Regions from separate parts of the Homo sapiens genome. Here all the other regions are linked to region 1. The links are contacts of gene promoters, found by promoter capture Hi-C in blood cells and fetal thymus (Javierre and others, 2016). All regions are on one chromosome and are shown on one strand. Each heading gives the region's core, a stretch centred on a gene start or on the middle of the fragment in contact. The rest is flanking DNA. Distances are from core to core; before and after follow the strand shown.

The links. Contacts are between HindIII fragments. The CHiCAGO score rates a contact against its expected background, and 5 or more counts as called.
Region 2: the fragment with the promoter of BPNT1 here is called in contact with the fragment with the promoter of MTARC2 in region 1 in 1 of 17 cell types (neutrophils); the score reaches 6.3 in neutrophils.
Region 3: a fragment that was not itself captured here is called in contact with the fragment with the promoter of MTARC2 in region 1 in 2 of 17 cell types (M1 macrophages and M0 macrophages); the score reaches 5.6 in M1 macrophages.

The regions. Positions count from the first base shown.
Region 1 is chr1:220,745,088-220,749,571 of GRCh38, reverse strand. MTARC2 (mitochondrial amidoxime reducing component 2) reads right to left here and starts at 1,250. Exons shown (of 8, transcript NM_017898.5): 1 at 769-1,250. The coding sequence starts at 1,040. LOC124904516 (a long non-coding RNA gene) reads left to right here and starts at 757. Exons shown (of 2, transcript XR_007066884.1): 1 at 757-1,753; 2 at 2,809-4,484. The HindIII fragment of the contact is 9,208 bases long and covers 1-4,172 here.
Region 2 is chr1:220,087,147-220,091,630 of GRCh38, reverse strand. It overlaps BPNT1 (3'(2'), 5'-bisphosphate nucleotidase 1), which reads left to right and starts at 1,843. Exons shown (of 9, transcript NM_006085.6): 1 at 1,843-1,945. RefSeq lists an enhancer at 1,543-1,732. The HindIII fragment of the contact is 18,631 bases long and covers 1-4,433 here.
Region 3 is chr1:220,228,334-220,232,817 of GRCh38, reverse strand. RAB3GAP2 (RAB3 GTPase activating non-catalytic protein subunit 2) reads left to right here. Exons shown (of 35, transcript NM_012414.4): 2 at 1-19. Among named protein-coding and RNA genes, the nearest start is that of SNORA36B, 30 kb to the right of the region's middle. The HindIII fragment of the contact is 1,096 bases long and covers 1,672-2,767 here.

The sequences.
Region 1 (4,484 bases), core at 1-2,500:
GTAATCTCAGCTACTTGGGAGGCTGAGGCAGGAGAATTGCTTGAACTTGGGAGATGGAGGTTGCAGTGAGCTGAGATAGTGCCACTGCACTCCAGCCTGAGCTACGAAGTGAGATTCTGTCTCAAAAAAAAAAAAAAAAAAAAAGAAGAAGGCATCTTAATCCTAAGTATGAAATGTCTATGTGTCAGGCCCAAAAGTCCCAAAGTTCCAGGCTGTGAACAACTCTGCCTATGGGAGAAGGGGGGACACTATTCCCTTAATGGCAAGTATCACCTCTGCCCCAGAGTCCCCATGCCACTTGCTCATCCTTCATCAAAGTGTATCAGGCCTCCAGGGCACCCCCAGGATTGGAGAAATGTGAGGAACAAGGCCCAGCAAGGCCTAAGCCAATGTCCTTGAACAACACTTGGTTTCTTTCTTGCTGCTTTCTAGTGCCAATAGCTTTATTTTTCTACTTTGGTATACTAGGATAGAATCACAAACTTTAGAGCTAAGGAGACTTGGAGATACAGGTCAGACCCCCTCCTGTTACAGAGGAGGAATCTCTCGTCTAGGGAAGGGCAAGGGATTGCCCCTACCTACTTTACCAAAAATAAACCTGGCATGAACTTGGCCTTCCCAGATAAACGACCAACGGCCCAACAGTCAGCCCAGAAACTCAGGTGGCAAACCTCTATAGTCCTTCCCAGATAGATCGGGCCCCACCTGCCCCCCCGCTCCTCATCCCAGGCAGGCTCCGCGCTGCCCCGCGCCCGCGCTGTGCTGTACCTGTCCCGCAGGTTGCCGCTGCGCAGCCCCATGGCCGTGCACTCAGCCTCGCTCACCGGCACCCCTTTGCAGGATTTCACCGGGTAGATCCAGAGCTTCGCCACGGTGCCCACCTGCTGCAGCCGCCGGCGCCGCCTGGGCCATGCGCGGCGCCAGGCGACAGTCCCCAGGGCCACGGCGGCCAGTCCTAGCGCGGCGACCCCGAGCCACCTGGGCCAGGGCCGGGCTGGGAGGCCGAGGCGGGCCAGCGCGGAGGAGCTGGAAGCGCCCATGGCAGAGCGAGGGCGGGCGCGGACCGGCGCACAGACCCGGCAGCGACCGGAGACCGGGAGGACGAGGAGGCCCTTAAGGATCCGGGCAGGCGAGAGGAGTCAAAGTTGACCCAACTACGGACCCTCTCACACTTTCACCGCCGAGACGGCAGAGCAGTTCCGCGGAGAGCGGGAATGCCTTAATGCGGTGACCAAGCCTGCGCGGTAATGGAGGAAGACAGGCAGACAGCGGCGGGGGTACCCTGGGCGCCGTGGGAGCGACGCCGCCCAAAGCAAGCGAGCTAATGGGGCGGCCTCTGGGGTGGTCAGTGTCTCCTCCCTCTTCCCCGCCCCTACAACACGACAGTTACCCATGCAACATGACCTTCAGCGCCAGCACTCTGCCACCCCCTTCTCTGCTAATACTGCACGCTTAGTCGCTCGACAAGATCACCGCAGAACGTGAAGGCGGGTTGCCCAACGGAGGATTTACAAACATTTGGGAACGACTTTTTCTGGCAGGTCGCTGTGAGAACTGCAGGACTTTCTGCACACAAAGACACAGTCTAAACCTCTGCACTCAAAGACGAGGAACTCTAGCGTGGCTTATAGGAGCATGACTCAAGGTCCCCCACCCTCCGCTGCCGCCTAACCTCGACCCCAGTAAAATGTCTTCCCGAGAAAGCTCAAGGCAGCCAGGAGAATTCCCCGTTTATTCTAGCCAACACCCGATGGTAAAGCCCCTGACCTCCCTTTTTTAGGATATTTTCTTAAAAGGGCTTACAACTGTGAATCCTTTCTCTGTTGCTTTGAGATGTATATGTATCGCCTACACCTCAGAAGTGTCTTTCTCAAGGACCTGAAAGCCATTGCTCTGAAATGCAGTCATGGGGAGGATAGGCCTCTGTCCCCCAGTCTCTGTGGGAGGATAGAATCCCAGCTTCATAACGGCCAGCTCCAGGCACAGCTGCCCGTCATTAATACTGACCGCCCCTTCATGATTTTTCACTTGATCCCCTGCTAGCTTCCCGGCCCTATTCTCTCCTTCACCCTTTAAAACGCCCATTCTGCTATGCACAAATGAGAATGATCAGCTTTTTCTCCTACTGTAAGTAGTTACTGAGTAAAATCTGTTTTCATGGTTTAACTAATGTCTGGCTTTGTTGATCTTTAACACCTCCATTCAAGCAAGCTATTGGGTTAACAGTGGATTTTCTCAGACAAATTAAGGTTTGAAGTCTTTCAAGTTTTTTGTTGTTGTTCTGTTTTTCAAAAGTTTGTCCCTTAAACTGTGGCACAGTTCTAGGAAAGTTTAAGGAGGCCAACCAGTGGGCCACCCCCCAAATCTGGGCTGGCCACCTCCAGAGAAAGGGGCCCGTTCTGGAGTGTGGGAAGAGACTCCGGGAAGGATGGAGAACCAGAGGAGCCAGGTTCCCTTTGGCTGTTCCTTGTGAAAAGTGAAAGACAAAACAGGGCCTGAATCTCTCCCCACCCAGGAAAAAACCTCAGGCCAGCAGAATTAGTCCCTCAATCCCCATACATTTACATCATGCTTGGCAGCTGCGACTTATGGATTTGTTTTTTAAGCATGGTGTGGTGAATGTGATGTGTGTACACTTGTAGCTGACCCCCTTTGCCTCTCCCAACTCCTGAGGAGGGTCAGAGTCCTCCCTGCCCACAAGCCTGCTGTCAGAGTGAGGGGCTTACAAAGCCATCGCCTCGCTATACGTGAGCTCCCAGACAGGGCAAATGTCTTATTGATTAATCATCTCTTTCTTTCACCACATAGATATTGATCATTCACCAGGCTTCGTCCTAGATTGGCACTGGGGATTTAAAGTTTAGAAGAAGCTGCCCTTCCATCCAGTTCACTGACTCCCCAGAAGACTGACACCTCCCCTGCAAGTCTAGAGGATAATGTCAGAGGAGAAGCAAGGTCAAGATGCAGAGGATGCAGAGGCAAAAGAGCAGCTGAATCTCAGGACAGTGCTGTTTTCAGAGGGCGGAGCTTTGGAGCTGAGACTTGAACATGAGGAGGGGCTTGGAGATGGGTAAAGGAGAGGATTCTGGGCAAAAGGAGCAGCACGTGCAATAGCCTGAAAAAATGGAAGGAACAAGAGAGTGTGGCATGTTTGGGCAACCACCAGCAATCCAGCTGTATTAGGATGTACCTGTGCATGCAGCAGGTGGCGGGAGTTGAGGCAGGACAGGTGGGCAGAGGTCAGATCAACAGGCATCTTATCTCTACTTAATGTGGAGACACCTCAGAATTCTGAACAACAGTCTGGCATGATTAGACTTGGGTGCTAGGAAGGCCATTCTGGCTGCTCTGAGAAAGAGTAACACCAAAGATGGTTAGATGAGTTGCAAATGCCCTAGTTCAGGCTGATGTAATTCCAAATCAAGGAAAAATAACAGTGGGGCTGGAGATAGACATGTGGTTAGGAGAGATGGTCAGGGGACAGAATTAACAAGAGATAGTGATGACAGAACACAGAGCCAGAGGGAGAGGAAGAGCCCACGGGGCCTCCTGGCTCTGTGGCATAAAAGTCTGGGGTGGGATGGGGGTACCATTCTCAGAGATTAAGAATTCAAGAGAAGCTGGGCACAGTGGCTCACACCTGTAATCCCAGCACTTTGGGAGGCCGAGGTGGGCGGATCAGGAGGTCAGGATATCGAGACCATCCTGGCTCACATAGTGAAACCCCGTCTCTACTAAAAATACAAAAAATTAGCCAGGCATGGTGGTGGGCATCTGTAGTCCCAGCTACTTGGGAGGCTGAGGCAGGAGAATGGTGTGAACCCAGGAGGCGGAGCTTTCAGTGAGCCGAGATCGCGCCACTGCACTCCAGCCTGGGCGACAGAGAGAGACTCCGTCTCAAAAAAAAAAAAAAGAGAATTCAAGAGAAGAAGATAGTCTGGGAAAAAAGATGATGAGCCTATTGTGAACAGCGAGTGAGAGGTATCTTTGAGACATCAAAGAAGAAATAGTTACCTAGATAGATGGGTAACTTGACCTTTCCATGCTTCCACCTCCTCATGTGCAAAATGATGGGGATAGACATCAAGTGAGGAACTTTGCCATGGTGAGTGCTGCCAAGTCTTTGCTGTCTTCACCAGCCATTATCTATCATAGCCTGCCCTGTTTAAGCTTCACCAATGCTGGGGTTGGGGGTGCCTTCAGGGGAGCAGGGAAATTCCTTATCAGTAATGTGTACATTTGCAGCCCAGCATCTTCATTTGTAGAATTAGTGAGGGGTGATGAGAGGCTGTATTAGTCCATTCTCACACTGCTATAATGAAATACCTGAAGCTGGGTCATTTATCAAGAAAAAATGTTTAATTGGCTCATAGTTCTGCAGTCTGTACAGGAAGAACGGCGGCTTCTGCTTCTGGGAGACCTCAGGGAGCTTTTACTCATGGTGGAAGACAAAGCAGCAGTGGATGTCTTACATGATAGGAGCA
Region 2 (4,484 bases), core at 594-3,093, 660 kb after region 1:
GACAGAGCGAGACTCCATCTCCAAAAAATAAAATAAAATGCACTTCATCTTTGACCCACGGTTTCACATCTGGGATCTATCACAGCTATAGTCTTCCAGGAGCACAAAGATATATTTACATAGAAACTCTCCTAACCAACCTCTACATAACTTGCTGAATTCAACTATGCCGTTTTCTCGTAAAACCTATGAGAGGATACAATGAACACTTGGGAGATGGCTACTCTTTAGGATGACTGCAGATTTCTATTCTCACTTGTTGAGCTTACCTTGCATTATGTTTGTCTTTATTTAAGCCATTTGTACTTGTCATGTAATTATACAATTTAATTATAAAAACCAAAGTATGGCCAGGTGCAGTGGCTCATGCCTGTAATCTCAGCACTTTGGGAGGCCGAGGCGGGCGGATCATGAGGTCAGGAGTTCGAGACCAGCCTGGCCAACATGGTGAAACCCCGTCTTTACTAAAAAAAAAAAAAATGCAAAAACTAGCTGGGCTGGGTGGTGTGCGCCTGTAGTCCCAGTTACTCAGGAGGCTGAAGCAGGAGAATAGCTTGAACCCTGGGAGGCAGAGGTTGCAGTGAGCCGAGATCAAGCCATTGCACTCCAGCCTGGGCGACAGAGTAAGACGCCGTCTCAAAAAATATATATATGTATATATGTGTGTGTGTGTGTGTGTGTATATATATATATATATATATATATATATATATATATATGGTTAAAGTAATATAATTTAAGTTATGTATATTTTTCCACTTCCCAAAAAGGGTCTACTTAACTCACAGAGTTATTGTGAAAATCAAATGAAGACGTAAAAGCCTTTTTAAGCTGGGCGCAGTGGCTCACACCTGTAATCCCAGCACTTTGGGAGGCCGAGGTGAGCAGATCACCTGGGGTCAGGAGTTCAAGACCAGCCTGGCCAATATGATGAAACCCCGTCTCTACTTAAAAAACAAACAAAATTAGCCCGGCGTGGTGGCGCGCCTGTAGTCCTAGCTACTTGGGAGGCTAAGGAGGAAGGATCGCTTGAACCCAGGAGGAGGAGGTTGTAGTGAACCTAGACTGCGCCACTGCACTCCAGCCTGGGCGACAGGATGAGACACTGCCCCCTTCCCCAACCACGCCCCCCAGTAAAAGATCCCATCTGTACACAAAAAATATTTTAATTAGCTGGGTGTGGTGGCGCGCACCTCCACCAGTAGTCCCAGCTACACGGAAGGCTGAGGCGGGAGGATGGCTTGAGCCTAGAAGTGGGAAGGCAGCAGTGAGCCGTAATCGACTCTGGGCGACAGAGCAAGCTATCTATCGCTTAAAAAAAAAAAAAAAAAAAAAAAAAAAAAGGTAAGCAAGCATCTTTGACACAATTCTGCATAAAGTTGCTGTGTTATTGCGTGGGGAGTGGGAGGTGGAGGTGTGTGTGGTGGACCTGCTGAAGCCTGTCCACGGACCGCTAGGGGTTCGAAGTTAAATAGCCGCAGAGTGGTATCACTAATACAAAGAACATTTTAAAACAGTGAACTCTACGAAGTGGGCTGGAAGACAGCTGAAACCAAAACCAATCTTTTTTTTGTTTCAACACACTGTTGCTGGCTTAATGTGTTCTTTCCTTCTTCTTTTTCTTTTTTTAGCCAATCTTTGAAAGTTGACACATCTTTCGCTTTTATTTAATGCAACAGGTGACTTGCACCTACGGAGAGCTTGGAGAAAACACGGACAAGTGGAATTTTCCCGCGGATCAGGAGTCTAAAGAGGCAGTGTGAAATCGCTGTTGTGCGCTTGCGCGCAGTTTCCCGCATGCTCAGTAGCTGAGGTAGGGATGCCATCCTTCTCAAAAGACTTATTGACAGTGCCAAAGCTCGGTACTGGACACAACGAGGGACCTGGGTCTACGATAACGCGCTTTTGCTCCTCCTGAAGTGTCTTTGGTCCAACGTTGTTCCAGGTTTGTCACCGTTTCTCTCCGGCCGGTCAGGGCAAGAGCCAGGTAGATAGGATTTATGTTAAAAAAATAAAACGAAAAAGGTTTATGTGAATCAGATTGCTTCTCCAGATATTCTAACTTCCGACTTGGACTCTTGAGTGTCGATATTTTAATTGTTTATCTGTGCTTTTATTTTCGTGATCCGGAAGGTTTTTATAGCCATATACTGTAGAAACAAGACAAACCTAGACATTGAGTTTGTTGATGCACCCAAATTTAGAAACTGCTTGGTACCTAAAATTAAATTTCTTTAAACAGCAAATATTCTTCCAACTGCCATTTCTACATATTTATAGGTTTGCGTGATTTATTTGGATTTCTCTGTAAATATAATTGTTGGTTCAAAAGATACGTACTTTATACTTTTATTAAGGTTCTCAAAACTCTCCTAAGAGGGTTCACCGCTTTGCCAACAATGCTCAGGAACATGTTCCCTCACACCCTTGCAAACTGGACAAAGGACAAACTCTTCTTCTTTCTTCTTTTTTCTTCTTCTTCTTCCTCCTCCTTCCTCCTCCTTCTTTTTTTTTTTTTTTTTTTTTTTTCGAGACGGAGTCTCGCTCTGTCGCCCAGGCTTGAGTGCAGTGGTGCAATCTCGGCTCACTGCAAGCTCCACCTCCCAGGTTCACGCCATTCTCCTGCCTCAGCCTCCCGAGTAGCTGGGACTACAGGCGCCCACCACCAAGCCTGGCTAATTTTTTTTGTATTTTTAGTAGAGACGGGGTTTCACCGTGTTAGTCAGGATGGTTTCGATCTCCTGACCTCGTGATCTGCCCGTCTCGGCCTCCCAAAGTGCTGGGATTACAGGCGTGAGCCACCGCGCCCAGCCTTTCTTTCTTTCTTTTTTTTTTTTTTTTAAGACAGGTTCTAGCTCTGTCCCCCAGGCTGGAGTACAGTGGTGCCATTATGTCTCACTGCAACCTTGACCTCCCAGGGTCTGGTGATTCTCCCACCTCAGCCTCCCGAGCAGCTGGGACTACAGGCATGTGCCACCACACCATCTAATTTTTGCATTTTTTTGTAGAGACGAGGTTTTGCCATGTTGCCCAGGCTGGTCTCGAACTCCTGAGCTCAAGCAATACACCAGCCTTGGCCTCCCAAAAAGTTCTAGGATTACGGGTGTGAGCCACTGCATTCAGCGACAATTTTTTTTTTTTTTTTTTTTTTTGAGTCGGAGTCTCTGTCGCCCAGGCTGGACTGCAGTGGCGCGATCTCGGCTCACCACAACCTCTGCCTCCTATGTTCAAGCAATTTTCCTGCCTCAGCCTCCTGAGTAATTTTTGTATTACTATGCCTGGTTAATTTTTGTATTTTTAGTAGAGATGGGGTTTCACCATGTTGGCCAGGCTAGTCTTGAACTCCTAACTTCAGGTGATTCACCTGCCTTGGCCTCCCAAAGTGCTGGGATTACAGGTGTGAGCCACCGTGCCCTGCCAAATTTTCTTTTCTATGCCAATCTTAAAAATAAACAATCATGGCCCGGCGCGGTGGCTCACGCCTGTAATCCTAGCACTTTGGGAGGCTTAGGCAGGCCATGAGGTCGGAAGTTCGAGACCAGCCTGACCAACATGGAGAAACCCTGTCTCTACTAAAAATACAAAATTAGCCAGGTGTGGAGATGCTTGCCTGTAATCCCAGCTACTCGGGAGGCTGAGGCAGGAGAATCGCTTAAACCCGGGAGGCAGAGGTTGCGGTGAGCCAAGATCTCGCCATTGCACTCCAGCCTGGGCAACAAGAGCAAAAACTCTGTCTCAAAAAATAAATAAATTAATTAATTAATTAAAAATAAAATAATCATTTCTCATTGTTTTAGTTTGCATTTCTTTCATAATTAGTGAAGCTGAGTATTTATGTATTTAATGGCCAGTGCTTTTCTCTTTGTAGGTGTTGCCCGTTCTTGTTTATTTGCTCATTTTTCTATTGGATTATTCAGCTTTTATATACTGATCTTTTACAAATTAAGTCATTTGTCTGGTATGTGATACAATATTTTTTTCTCATTTTGTCAAGTACCTGTTTATTTAGTTTATGGTATTTTGGCCATGTAGAAGTTTTAATTTTATTTTTATTTATTGATTGATTGATTTTGAGACGGAATCTCGCTCTGTCACCCAGGCTGGAGTGCAATGGTGCAAATGATCTCAGCTCACTGCAACTTCTACCTCCCAGGTTCAAGCAATTCTCCTGCCTCAGCCTCCTGAGTAGCTGGGATTACAGGCGCGTGCCACCAAGCCCGGCTAATTTTTGTATTTTTAGTAGAGACAGGGTTTCACCAAGTTGGTCAGGCTGGTCTTGAACTCCTGACCTCGTCATCCGCCCGACTTGGCCTCCCGAAGTGCTGGGATTACAGGCCACCGCGCCCAGCAACTCTTAGTTTTATAGAGTCAAATTTATCAATAGAATATTTTATGGATTCTTGGTTTTATGCTTAAAGGGCATTTACCAAGCTTATGAAGTTTATAATTTTTATTTCCATGCTTTTATGGTTTCTTTTTTTACT
Region 3 (4,484 bases), core at 970-3,469, 520 kb after region 1:
AAATGAACCACAAGAACCTGTAAGTCTTTACAAATATATGCATGTTTTTTGATAGTGGCATTTTCCTTTTGTAATGATGGTGACATATTTCCCTGTCAAGCTGACATTTTAAATTCGATGTCAAGAATATTTTTGTGCTTACTTATTAGTACTTAACTAGATACCTCTTCTTAAGGAACTTAATGACATTGTAGCTAAAGCGGGTGTCTTCGTTCACTTGGTGTTGCTATAACAGAATACCTGAGACTGGGTAGTTCATAATGAACAGAAATTGATTGGCTCACAGTTCTGGATGTTGGGAAGTCCAGGATCAGGGGCCAGCATCTGGCAAGAGCCTTCTTGCTGCATCATAATACGGTGAAGGTGATAGGACCAGAGGCTGGTGGAGAGGGTGGGAGGGAAGAAAACATGGGCCAATACTCCTCTTTTTATAACAAATTCACTCCCACAATAAGGAACCTACTCCCTCATTAACGTCCTTAATCTATTCACTCTGCTCTCATGACCTAATTACCTCTCATTAGGCCCCATTTCCCAACACTGTTGCATTGGGGATTAAACTTTCAACACATGTTTTTTGGGGGCACATTCAAACCATAGCAGTGGGCTAAATGGAGAATAATTGTTTTAGGATTCTTTATCTTTCATAAATTATTCTTTTATATTCTTTCACTATTCACTCAAATATTTGCTGTACCTACCATATTCTACGCATTTTTCTAGATGCTGGGAGTATAGCAAGGAACAAGGCAGACAAAGTTCCTATATATGTTAGTATATTTTCACATATGAGTAATAAAAAAATCTAACTTTAATTGGCTTAAATATGAAGAAAATTTATTCGCTTACATAGAAGGAAGTCCAAAGATAGAATGGAATCCTGGGTTGGTTGATCAGGCAATTCAAATATGTCAAGTTATTTCATTCTGTCTACTTTGTATATGCAGTGTTGGCTTCATCCTAATGCCTGTTTCATTCACAGATGTAGTGTGGACAACATGTTTCTTCATTAATGGGTAGAGGGAGAAAAAGACTTGGGCTTTTCATGACTCTTTCAGGAGTTAGGGAGCTACTTTCTTAGACGTCTCTAGCAAACTTTTCCTTATGTCTTCTTGGCCAGGATTGGGCCACATGCTCATTTCTGAACTAATCACTGGCAAGGGATATGAGATATTCATTGTTGAATCATATTATTCCCTGGAGTTAGAGGATAAGAGGGTCAGCTTCTCCTGAGGCCCATGGCCACACGGAAGGAGTTGATACCTGAACAAAATCAGGATTTTTTTTTTAAGAAAGAAGAATGAATATTAGATAGGTCTTCTTACAGTCCTATTTCTGGGAGCTTACACTCTATGAGAGGGAGACATAAAAAAGAAAGATGGATGAAAAATAATTCAAATGGTAATGTGATAGCAAGTGACTGCTATAGATTGGGTGGTTAAGGAAGTTTTTTCAGAGGCTGTGACAGTTAAACTGAGATCTAAAAGGCAACAGGGAGTCAACAACATGAGAATCTGACAGGATTCTAGGCCAGGGCAGCAGCTCATGCAAAGTCTCAAGGCAGGAATGGGCTTGAGAGTTTGAAGGGACATAAAGAAGGCCAGTGTGATGTAGCAGGACTGAGACTGTTCCAAGATGGGGCAGAGAAGAAAGCAGGCCAGATGTCAAGCTTTGTGAATTTGGTGTTTATTCTAAATGCAATGGAAAACCACACTTACCTGATTTCTGACTTTGACAGCTCACCTTGGCTGCTCTATGGAATAGGTTGAAGTAGGGAGCAAAAGTAGAAGCAGGAAGACCAATTACAAGGCTGTTGCAGTAGCTTAGTTGAGAGATGATTGTGGCTTTGATTAAGGTGGTATTAGTGAAGATGAGAAATGGATGAATTCTGGATAATTTTCAGAGGTAATGATAAGACTTTCCAGTGAGCTGGTTATGAAGGATGAGAGGAAGGTGATAAATCAATAATAAATTCTTTGATCTGGGGTGTGGTGTGAAATAGATAAAACACGATTGTTGAAAGGTTGATATTCTCAAAAGGTGAGTAATAGATGCCATTCTCTTTACTTTTGTTAATATTTTTAAATATCCATAATAAGAAGTTTTTAAAAAACCCTGCCAGATATTTGGCTTGAATAACTGGAGGGATGTTGTGTCATACCCAGTTGGGGAGGATGAGGAAAAGAACAGCTTTGGCAGAGAAATCAGAGAGCATCATGTGCTAAGAAGTAGAGATATGCTCATGTAATAGAGATGTATGGAAAAACTCCATGAGGAGATTAAGAACAGGAAACCATTTCAGAAGACCTCTAGGAGAATTAGGATGTGTTGAATAGGATAAAATGCAGCTCAGGGAATTTGGTTACTGCAGCACCTCCGCGAACAACACCTGGTCCTCTTTCTAATGCTATGTCAAAATGGAGCCTCAGCTATTCTGCTTTTCCTAAGACTGACTGGTTGCTGCTTACTCCGGATTTAAACTATTGCATGGCTTTTGCTATGTCTCTTGTTTGTGGTTGTCTTAGATTATTTCTCCTTCTTTGTTTCACATTCAGAGCTCATGTGAAGATTTTACTGAGTCTGTGGATTACAACCTAATATAGGATATTTGGGGAGGGGGACATACTGTTTACACCAGGCCACTTCATGGGACATCAGCAGCTATATTATTGCTGCCTCCTGGTCAGGCATTCATCAGCAGTTTAATTCGCTATGGCAAGAATGAGGAGGGGAGGGAAGGAAAGGAGGGGGTTTGTGTAAACAAGCTTGGAGATTCTTCATGATTCTAGGAAAGTAACCTTTCAGAAAGGGATGTGCTTGGAGAATTTCCCAGAAAGAGATAGTGTAAATGGCACTTACCTTACATGTGCTATTTGGTAGACTTTTAGTATTTGCTTTCTGAAATCATGTAGCTAAGTTACCACTATGAATAACGTAAGAGACTTCCAAGTAAGTTTGAGGTTTTCTGGAATAAACCTCACAGGCATTGCATACTAAAGTGGACACATGCATTTATAATTTCAGAAGAGGTTCCAGTGTGACAGTTATTATTACATATATAGAATAGTGCTGGTGCTGAGCTATAGTATAATATTTCAGACCCAGATGGCCACATCTTAATGAGCCCACTGATACATACTTGGCTTTTTCTGTAATGGATTTTTGTTAATATTTGTGAATGACATAGTTAGGCATTTGTGTGTGAGGCAAGTTGTCCTTAAAGATATCTACTAATTCTTCCCTGATAGTATTAATTGGGTTAGTTTAGTCATAATGTGCCACAGACTTGCTTTTTGGCTCATCTAAAATGTGCCTTCCTAAGGGTGTGCCGCTTTATGGCATTATAACCTAATGAGTAGAAAAGAAGGAAAATGTGCTATGCAATGGGGTCAGAGAAGCAAGTAGGCCTGATATAAGGCTTTATAAATTTGGAATTTATTCTAAACATGATCAGAAACCACATTATCTGATTTCTGGTTTTTCAAGCTCACCTTGGCTGCTCTGTGGAATAGATGCAGTTAGTTTTCCTTGTATTTTTTTCTTAATTAGCTATATTATTCTTTTATTTTCTTCTTAATTAGCTGTATTTCTCATACTCATGAGGGTCGTGTGCCTCTTTATTTTGCAGTATTTCATTTTGATGTGCCACTATTGCAGCTGATTCTGAGTGACGTGGACAATGATAGCATAGTTAGAATGCATAAGTGTTAACACATTTCCTTTATATCTGACCTGTAAAGCATGTCTTCTTTTTTCAGCAAGGATATACTAAATCTAGGGATAACCTAAATCGAGGGATCTCCAGGGATAAATGTAAGGATCTTTTAAACAATGTAGTTAAAAGCTGAAAGATGCTTCTACTCATTCTAAAAACACATAAAAATACTGACATGTAGAACATTTCTTCATTTGGATAAAATCGGAATATTTACAAATGGCCCTAATGGATGAGAGTAGCTTGGTGTTCTTTGTCTTGATAGATTTGCTCATACTGTGACTTGACAAACACAGCAAGTGAAAATTGTTGATAGACCTCATTCACAACCATTTTGGGTGTACCAATTATTTCTAGCTGTTCTTATTATCCATTTTTGAACCCCTGTACCTTGTCATGGGTCATGTGTACATGGTGAGGGAGAATGCATTTGGGTGACAGTAAAGGTAGGCAGGTACAATGAAGTTCAGAGGTTATCTAGTTGTTCAAGTTATCCTGGTTGTTCAAGAGAGCCTCTTTGAATTTGGATCCTTTCCTTAAAAGACATCTTTGCTAAAGGAGACTGGTGGGTGGGAACAAAAACGGCACTATGGTCAGGGTAAGGACTGTGACCTCTCCCTTGAACAGCAGCATCAACCAGAACTTTCCATATATAGCACTATTATGAAGTTTTGCTGAGCAAAATGTTTTATACCAGGACTATTAGAAATCTACTCAGCTGAAGTAAGAGACTCTTATTTCTACTACCATCTATGATTATGAACAACTC